Linked DNA regions of Homo sapiens: region 1 is linked to region 2. Evidence: promoter capture Hi-C in 16 types of primary human blood cells and fetal thymus (Javierre and others, 2016). All regions are on one chromosome and are shown on one strand. The core of a region is centred on a gene start or on the middle of the fragment in contact, and the rest is flanking DNA. Distances in the headings are between cores, read along the strand shown. Region 1 overlaps LOC124902469 (a long non-coding RNA gene). Region 2 holds the start of MAT1A (methionine adenosyltransferase 1A).

What was found. The method cuts DNA at HindIII sites, captures the fragments that hold promoters and counts their contacts. A CHiCAGO score of 5 or more calls a contact.
Region 1: a contact is called between a fragment that was not itself captured here and the fragment with the promoter of MAT1A in region 2, in 3 of 17 cell types (M1 macrophages, M0 macrophages and M2 macrophages). The highest score is 5.8, in M1 macrophages.

Annotation. Positions count from the first base shown.
Region 1 is chr10:79,598,675-79,603,395 of GRCh38, forward strand. LOC124902469 (a long non-coding RNA gene) reads right to left here. Exons shown (of 2, transcript XR_007062215.1): 2 at 4,684-4,721. Among named protein-coding and RNA genes, the nearest start is that of SFTPA1, 9.9 kb to the right of the region's middle. The HindIII fragment of the contact is 413 bases long and covers 2,106-2,518 here.
Region 2 is chr10:80,287,226-80,291,788 of GRCh38, forward strand. It overlaps MAT1A (methionine adenosyltransferase 1A), which reads right to left and starts at 2,433. Exons shown (of 9, transcript NM_000429.3): 1 at 2,108-2,433. The coding sequence starts at 2,198. RefSeq lists an enhancer at 2,268-2,562. The HindIII fragment of the contact is 1,385 bases long and covers 1,549-2,933 here.

The DNA of each region.
Region 1 (4,721 bases), core at 1,062-3,561, 690 kb before region 2:
ATCCCTGTTTGCAGACAACACAATCTTGTATATAGAAAATTCTAAGTACTCCACCAAAAAACACTTAAATCTAGTAAATGAATTCAGTAAAGTTGCAAAATACAAAATCAACATGCAAAAATCAGTAGCATTTCTATAAATCAATAATGGGCTAGCTGAGAAAGAAATAAAAAAATCAGTCCGATTTACAATGGCTACAAAAAGTGAAATATCTAGGAGTAAGTTGAATGAAGGAGTGAAGAATCTCTACTAGGAAAACTATAAAACACTGAAGAAAAAAACTGAAGAGGATACAAAAAAACAGAAAACACTAAAGAAAAAGAACTGAAGAGGATACAAAAAAATGGAAAGACATCTCATGTTCAAAGCTTGGAAGAATTAATATTGATAAAAATGACCTTACTACCCAAAGTGATCTACAGATTCAATGCCATCCCTATTAAAATACCGATGACATTCTTCACAGAACAAGAAAAAATAATCCTGGACAGGTGTGGTGGCTCACGCCTATAATCCTAGCACTTGGGAGGCTGAGGCAGAAGGATTGCTTGAGGTCAAAAATTCAAGACCAACCTGGCCAACATAGCGAGACCCCATGTGTTGCAGGAAGTCAGGGACCCCGAACGGAGGGACCGGCTGAAGCCATGGCAGAAGAACATAAATTGTGAAGATTTCATGGACATTTATTACTTCCGCAATCAATACTCTTGTGATTTCCTATGCCTGTCTTTACTTTAATCTCTTAATCTCGTCGTCTTTGTAAATTGAGGATGTATATCCCCTCAGGACCATGTGATGATTGCATTGACTGCACAAATTGTTTGTAGAGCATGTGTGTTTGAACAATATGAAATCTGGGAACCTTAAGATCAGGGTAACAGCGATTTTCAGGGAACAAGGGAGATAACCTTAAAGTCTGGCTGCCTGTGGGCTGGGCAGGACAGAGCCATATTTCTCTTATTACCGAAAACGGATAAGATAAATATAACTGAATTATTTCGGTAAGGAATATTAATAATTTACTGCCCTGGGAAAAGAATGCATTCCCGGGGGGGCCTCTAAAATGGCCGCCCTGAGAATGTCTGCCTTATGCAGATGTAGATAGGGATGAAACACGCCCTAGTCTCCTGCAGCATCCCCAGGCTTGCTAGGATTTAGGAAATTCCAGCCTGGCGAATTCTAGTCAGACCAGTTCTCTGCCCTTGAACCCTGACAATGCGTGCACAGCGGGACATGGAAGTTCATTAGTGATTCTAGTTTTGCCCTGACCTTCTGCCTTGTGATCTTTTGTTGCCCTTGAAGCATGTGATCTCTGTGACCCGCACCCTACTCCTACACTCCCTCACTTTTGAAAATTGCTAATAAAAACTTGCTGCTTTTACAGCTCAGGGGGCATCACAGAACCTGCCAACATGTGATGTCTCCCCCGGACACCCAGCTTTAAAAATTTCTCTTTTGTACTTTTTCCTTTTATTTCTCAGACTGGCCGACACTTAGGGAAAATAGAAAAGGACTCATGTTGAATTATTGGGGGTGGGTTCCCCCGATACCCATGTTTATTTTAAAAAAATGAAAAAGAAAAAAATCATAAAGTTTGTGTGGAACTATAAAACACCAAGTAGTCAAAGTAATCCTGAGCAAAAAATGAAAAGTTGAAGGCATCACATTACCTGACTTCATAATGTACTACAAATCTATGATAACCAAAACAGCATAGTACTCGTATAAAAACAGATGCATAGACCAATGGAACAGAATAGAGAACACAGAAATAAATTTACATATTTATAGCCAACTGATTTCTGGCAATGGCACCAATAACATACATTGGGGGAAAGGACAATAAATGTTCAATAAATGGTGCTGGGAAAACTGAATATTCATATGCAGAAGAATGAAACTAGACCCCTATCTCTTATACATTAAAAAAAAACATGAAATGGATTAAAGCCTTAAACATAAGACCCAAAGGTATGAAACTAGTAGGAAAAAGCATAGGAGAAGTGCTTCAGGATATTGGTCTGGATGAAGATTTTATGGAGAGACCTCAAAAGTACTGGGAACAAAAACCAAAAATAAGCCAATATGGTTATATCAAACTAAAAAGCTTCTGCACAGAAAAGAAAACAATCAACTGAGTGAAGAGACGGCCTGCAGAGTGGGAGAAATATCCACAAGCTATTCATCCAATAAGGGATTAATATCCTGAATATAAAAGGAACTCAAACAATTCCACAGCAAAACATTCAAATAATCCAATTTAAAAATAGGCAAATGATCTGAACAGACACTTCTCAAAAGAAGACATAAAAATGGCCACGTATATAAATGACACTCAATATCTTTATTCCTAAGATAAATGCAAATGAAACCAAAATAAATTATCTCACCCCAGGTAGACTGGCTTTTATCAATAAGACAAAAAAGAATAAATACTGGTGCGGGTGCAGAGAAAAGGGAACTCATACACTGTTGGTGGAAATGGAAAGTACTACAGCCATTATGGAAAGCAAAATGAAGCTTTCTTGAAAACCTAAAACTAGAACTATCATATAATCTAGCAATCCCACTACTGGGTATTCAAAGAAAAGGAACCCAGTATGTTAAAGAGGTATCTACCCTCCTATGTTTATTGCGGAGCTATTCATAATAGCCAAGATATGGAATCAACCTAAGTGTCTATCAGTGAATGAATGGATTTAAAACATGTAGTAACTAAACACAATGGAATACAGTTCATCCATAAGAAAGAATAAAATTCTGCCATTCATAGCAACATGGGTGAGCCATTATGTTAAGTGAAATAAAGCCAGGAAAAGAAAATTAAACACAGCATGTTCTCACTCATTTGTGGATGCTAAGAAAACTTAGTTAATCTCATAGAAGTAAACATAGAACAGTAAGTAAACAGTAGAACAGAATATATTAGAGGCTGGGAAGATTAAGGGGAATGAGAAATGGGAAAGGTGGGGCAATGGGTACAAAATTACAGCTAGATAGGAGAAATGAGTTGTAGCCTTCTTTAGCGCTGTAGGGTGACCATAGCCAACAAAAAAATTATGTATACTTTCAAATAGCTAAAAGAGAGGATTTTGAATGTTATCAACACAAAACAGTAAGTTTTTGAGGTGATGAATATGCTGCTTACCTTGATTTCATCATTGCACGTTACATACATGTATCAAAATAGTCCACTGTGCCCATATGTATGTAAAATAATTGTGTCAAAAATAACATTTTTTAAATTAAAAAGATAGTAAAGAATATATTACCAGAAGTAAAAACAAACAAACTCCAAGAAAAGACTATAGTTACAATTATATCCCTATGTGTCAATCTGAAAAGATGGCTGGCATATGTAAGAGAAAACACTAATTGTAGAACAGTATATGCAGTATGATCTTATTGGTGCAAAGTAAGAGAATGTGTGTGTGTGTGTCTGCACGTGTGTGTTCCTGAGCCTATTTCTTTGAAGACAGTTGCTGCCACCTGCCAGTTTCAATTCCTCCAAGGTGCAGAATGGGAAAACCTCTCTCCCTCTCCTCAAAACCTCAGTAAAGCATGATGTATTTCTCTGGGGTTTGGAAGGTTCAAAATGTTCAGGGCAGAAAGAAGGGTGACAAGGCTGCATTGGCAAAAATGAAAATAAAAACAAGTAATGTGATTTTTAAGGCAAATTGGATGCTATTTCTAGGCAACAGAAATATATTTACAGTGTTATTCTTTTTAAAAATAAAATGGCATTATTAGAGAGGCATCAATGTAATATATATGTATGTAAACATACAGCACACAATATATGTGTGTGTATATATATGTATATAATGCATACACACATATTTGCTTAGTTTGCTGGCTGCCTCAGCAAAGAAAAGCCTCAACTTCCATCCCCTTCATGTGGCTGAGCTGTCCCTTAGATTCTGACATTATAAGCGATTTTGAAATATATCCATGATTAGTAAATTAATTTGTGCATTCCCTTGTCTTCATGTACAGGTAGAATAAGCATGTTCCTCTGACTCTGGGAAGGTTCTAGCAGAGGACTGAGCTGGAAAGAAGATTTCTGGTAATTCTGGCAATCCATGTAACCCCTGTCATCCTCAGCTGACTGAAGTATGGAATGGGGATTTACTCTCTGTACAACTCATAGAGTGCTGTGATGATCCAAAGTGACAGAAAGATCCAGCAGTCACAGACAGCCTCCTCCTACTGCTAGCACCCAGGGCAGCTGGAAAAGGGGGCAGGGGAAGGGTCCCCTGAGCACTAAGAGAGAGGCCTCAAATATGCAGAGAAGCCCATGCACTGTCCTTAGTGCCTGTACATGGCCTCCACTCTGCACCCCTTTGAAACGGGAGAGTCCCCTGATCCCCCTCACAGGATGCATGACAGGGGTGTGGCTCACCTGTTTGGTTGCCCCACTGCTCAAACCCCTAGGGGGAGCATGCAGATGGGCAGGTTCAGAGGCTGGGGTGAGTGCTTTGGGCTCCAGCTGTTCAGTAGAGTCTAGGGATGGGTGCCTGTAATCCTGGTGTTACAAAACTCTTTCAGTTTTGCATACGCAGGTGGCTTGAGTGTTAATCAGCTCAATGGACCCTCTGCCTTATCCTAAGGGCAGAGGGCCTGTGTGACAGCTTTCTGTATCCCAAGCTTTCACCCAGCATCCTGGAAGAATCAGATCACATGTGGGCTTGAAGGATGAGTGCAAGATTTTATTGAGTGGT
Region 2 (4,563 bases), core at 1,183-3,682:
AGCAGGGGCTTCCAGATAGCACCACACACAAGACAATGCCCAAGGAGGTTGTTTCTGAATTGTTTTTGTTTTTGTTTTGGCTTTCAAAATTTTTATCAATATCACTTAGTAGGCTTAAGATAGCCAATAGTTGTTTTTTTGGAAAACCAGAGAAGAAAACCTTTATCTTTCTAGCAGAGAGGAATTCAGCAATGGAATGACAAGCAGAAAGTCACCTAGCCTCCATGGAAACTGACTTACCTGGACAATTACAATGGCAAGTACAAGGGACGATTAGACAAATTGATTGGCTGTCATTAAGTATACAAAACAATCAATTGATTGGCTGGCACGTTCATTCTCAGTCCTCTGAGCACATTGCTGCTGCGCACAATGGACCATTCTTGGGACCACTAGCCGCTGCATGCCAAAAAACCCACTTCCTCCGGGTGGAGTGAATCTTTCTCCTAACCTATACATGAGGCTCATAGCCATGGAGCTGATCAGAATGTGTCAGAAATCAGCAATGTATCTGAGATTGAAAATACAGTAAACCTAGATACTTTATACAGTTATGCACAATGAAAGAGGCTATTTACATTGAACTGAGCTAAGTCACATAAAAAACTCAATTCAATTCAAGGTTTTTCAACAGCTGCACTATTAACATTTTGGGCCAGATAATTCTTGAGAGGCTGTCCTGTGCACTGTAGGATGCTTAGCAGTGTGCCTGACCTCTACTCAATACATGGCAGTAGCACCTTACCCCCACCTCCTATAGTTGTGATAACTGCAAATGTCTCCAGACAGTACAAAATGCTCTTGGGGGTTGTGGGGCAAAACTGCCACCAGTCAAAAACCACTGGCTAAAGTATATGGAAGGAGTAGTGCACTGAGGTGTCCAAAGCCAAGTTACAAGGTAGGAAAGATAAATATCTTTGAGGAAGAACAAGAGCAAGGAAGATGGAAAAAGGCAGACTTGGCAATAAGTTAGCAAACACTCGAATGAATTTTGAAGAGGGACTTAACTATAGAAGTCTGTACATCTATCCCCCAGGGGTCTCCAAGAGCAGTGGTTCTCACCCCAGAGCATCAGCATCTCCTGGGAACTTGTCAAAAATGCAAATTCTCGAGCCTCTCCCAAGACCTACTGAATCAGAAACTCTGGAGGGTGGGGCCCAGCCCTCTGTTGTCTTGACAAGCCCTCTGGGGGATTCTGAAGCTCCCTGAAGTTTGAGAACCACTGTCCTACACTTGAGGCTCTGAATGTCCTGGTCCTAGTTCTCACCGTCATCAAGGAAGCTTCTCTCACTTCCGCACATCACAGTCTACCTACTTTTCAGGGACCAAAATCAATGCCTAAATTTTCTTCCTGTTTAGAAGGTCTTCTATTCTGCTCTTAGAGAACGTTACTGAGTCCCCAGCACCTAGAGGTCTACCCCAGCAGTGACCAGGGTGCAGGCTTTCATGCCTAAGTTGCACATGCTTCACATGCAAAATTTAGTCACCCATGGTCTTGTTTCAGGAACATTCCCTGTTGACTTAAATTGGCCATGGATAATAGATTAAAGCTTTCCTAAAAAAAAAATACATATAAAAAGTTAAGACCTGATCATATATTTTGCATGTGTCATACTCTTAGCCAGCCAGCTGCTACTCCCTGTCTTGGACCCACTGTGCTGGCGTGCTGGTGGTGGGCCACAGCACGGCTTCATCAGGAGGGACTGTTTTATGAAACTACTCCATGCTGTTTCTCTAGAGATCCCTTCTGGTAACTCACACACATTGCTCTGAAGAGCTCTGGTAAAAGTGACTCCTACAGGTACGAAGTTACAGTCAGATAGGAGGAATGAGCTCTGGCATTCCATTGCGCAGTAGGGTGACTGAAGGGCTAGAAGAGGGAATTTTGAATGTTTTCACCACAAAGAAGTAGTCAATGTCTGTGGCAATGGGTATGCCCATTATCCTAATTTGATCATTAAATGTTATACTCATGGATCAAAACAACACACGGTACCCCATAAATATGCACAATTATTATGTGTCAAATTAAAACCATTTGTAAGTGACTCCCTCAGTATAGGCTTGGAATGATCGTTTTCCAGTCAGTCCAAGACAGCCTACTTACCCGGGTGTCCCTCTCCCACAGACTCCGATGTGAACATGAAGACTCCTTCACTTAGAGAGTGGTCACACAAGCCATCCACCGGTCCATTCATCTTCTCACACTTCTCCACTCACGCTTCTTTCAGTGAACAATTTTGAGGCTGTGACTTTGCCTGAGTTTTTTTTTCTTCTTCTTCTTCTTCTTTCAACCCAACAGGCTTGTCTTTGGCAGAGCCACGGGGATCACTTCTGCCTAACTGCCTGTGAGCACGTGAGAACAGGCGAGGACTGCTGAGAAGGGAGGGAGTGGATGGAACACGGGATGTGTCCCTCCCTCCAGCTTGCCACAGCTTGCTCCTGAGCGACTCCTATATATGGAAAAGCGAAAGTGCCTGAAAAATCATGTGAGAAAATTGGAGGAGTCCATTTCCTAAGAGGGGGGTCTTCTTACCTGGAGGAATTTCAATTCTTATCCCTGACTTTCCAAACTCTAAGCACCTGGTCAAGGTAAGGTAAAGAAGGCTGTATAGTTCTGCAGAATTGAAGCTCCTTTGGGACTCTCCTTCAGCTCTTAGCCAATCTTGGTAGTGCTCCAGAGTTCACAACCCACCTTGGAGAGCAGGGGTCTGTGATCACCCAGAGATACAAGCAGGCAACAAGAAACTCTTTCTCAGAGATATGGTTTAGGCTAAGATTGCAACAGTGCCTTTGCTGTTGGGTGTCCCCTCCTCCCCTGCGTCTCATCTGGATTGGTCTCTTCCCATTCTATCTTCTCAGGGAGAGCAGGAGCACGCACCTGTATTCTGAGCCAGCTGTGATGTTACACAACAGATTCATTTTAGAGGAAAAGCTTTGAGTCCACGTGTTTCTGCTAACAGAAACCACCTAACCTGTCAACTTCTCTAAAAGGCTGGCAGGCATTTTAACAAGCAAGATCTTTAAAAAGTATCTATCTGGGGAGGTTACAGAGAACAATGTGTGTGTGTGTGTGTGTGTGTGTGTGTTTTTTTTAGAAAAAAATGCTTTTGAGAAATGGATTCATTACAGGGAAATTATCAAAGTCCAGTTTCCCAAAGCTTCCGGATTATAAACATCTACATATTCAGTTCTATACATGTAATAAACATCGTGTTCACATAACTCTTGCATTATTTTTTGCTTTGACCAAAAAAAGTAGTAAACAGGATTATATCTTTAGTTCATGTACTAAATGACAGCGTCTCACACTCTCAGATCCAGCTGCATCCTCAGACCCAAGGAACAATGGGGAATTGAGACCACAGAAAATGAGGATGGGTGGAGAAACCAGTTCCCACTAGAATGCAATAAAAAGTAATCAACCATAACCTTGTGCATCAAAGCTTGGACTGTGGGAAGCAAAAGTTAGGAAGCAATAGCCTCACCTAACAATTCTGGTGACCAAACCCCCCTCTGAGTTTATTATCAAGCATTTGGAAAAATTTTTTCTGGCACACATTCTGGTGCTCCAAAGCTTGAGTTTTGCTAACTGATGACCAAACATCATCCCTTCAGGGAATTAAAGCAGTATTAAGGTGACCTCTTCTGGAATAAAGTAAGGGATGTTACATATGCATAGCCAATCAACGGCATTTAACAAGGAGTGAACTGAAGTGCTTAGGCACAAGACTGTTGAAAGTTCAGAGAGGAAAAGGCCACTGGGAAGGGATGGACAAACGAGGAATCAAATAGGGACTTTAGACAACATCGCCTTGTCATTGCCAGCACACAGGACTCCTCTGTTTGCACTTAAGCTATTTCAACATTGCTGGCCCTTAGTAAATTTCTTCTGGGTACATTAGTTTTAAACCTAGAGGCAATATGAGCTAATGTTTAATTTGAACTGTAGAACTAGGTGACCTTAGCAGTTAAAATTGTATGATAACAATTATGGTCCAAATTTGATTTAAGAACAAGATGATGTGTAAGTAGCAGGTACTCTTCAAGGTTCCTAGAGTTATCAGGAAGACAGAAAACAAAGCAGTAGCTGCCTTCTGAATTCCATAAGTAACAGCACCATGGGGTGGAAGGCGTCAGGGTGGGGAGACGATCTGTTACACAGATATGTGTGCAGGGGGCTTTGGCAGCCTGGATGCCAATTGAGGGTGTGAGGGAGGGATCTGAGAGGCACCTCGTTAAAAACTCATCTCAAGTATGAGTTTCATTTAAGACCCCAACTAAATACTAGGATGCCTTATATTCTTCTAGCAAGTAAATGTTAAGAAGCAGTACACGGAGCATGGTGGATGGAAGTGCAGGCTTCTGGACTAGGGTCCAACTTTTGCCTGTAACCTCCCATGCAGCATGGAGAAGGCTTCCTAACCTTTCTAATCTGTTGTTTCTTCTGCTGTAAAGCGGGTTAAATAATTACCTACCTCCTAGTGTTATTTTGAGAACTAAATGAGGTCATTTAGGTATGATGAGTATTGGACAAAGTGCTAGCACACAATACAAATTTAA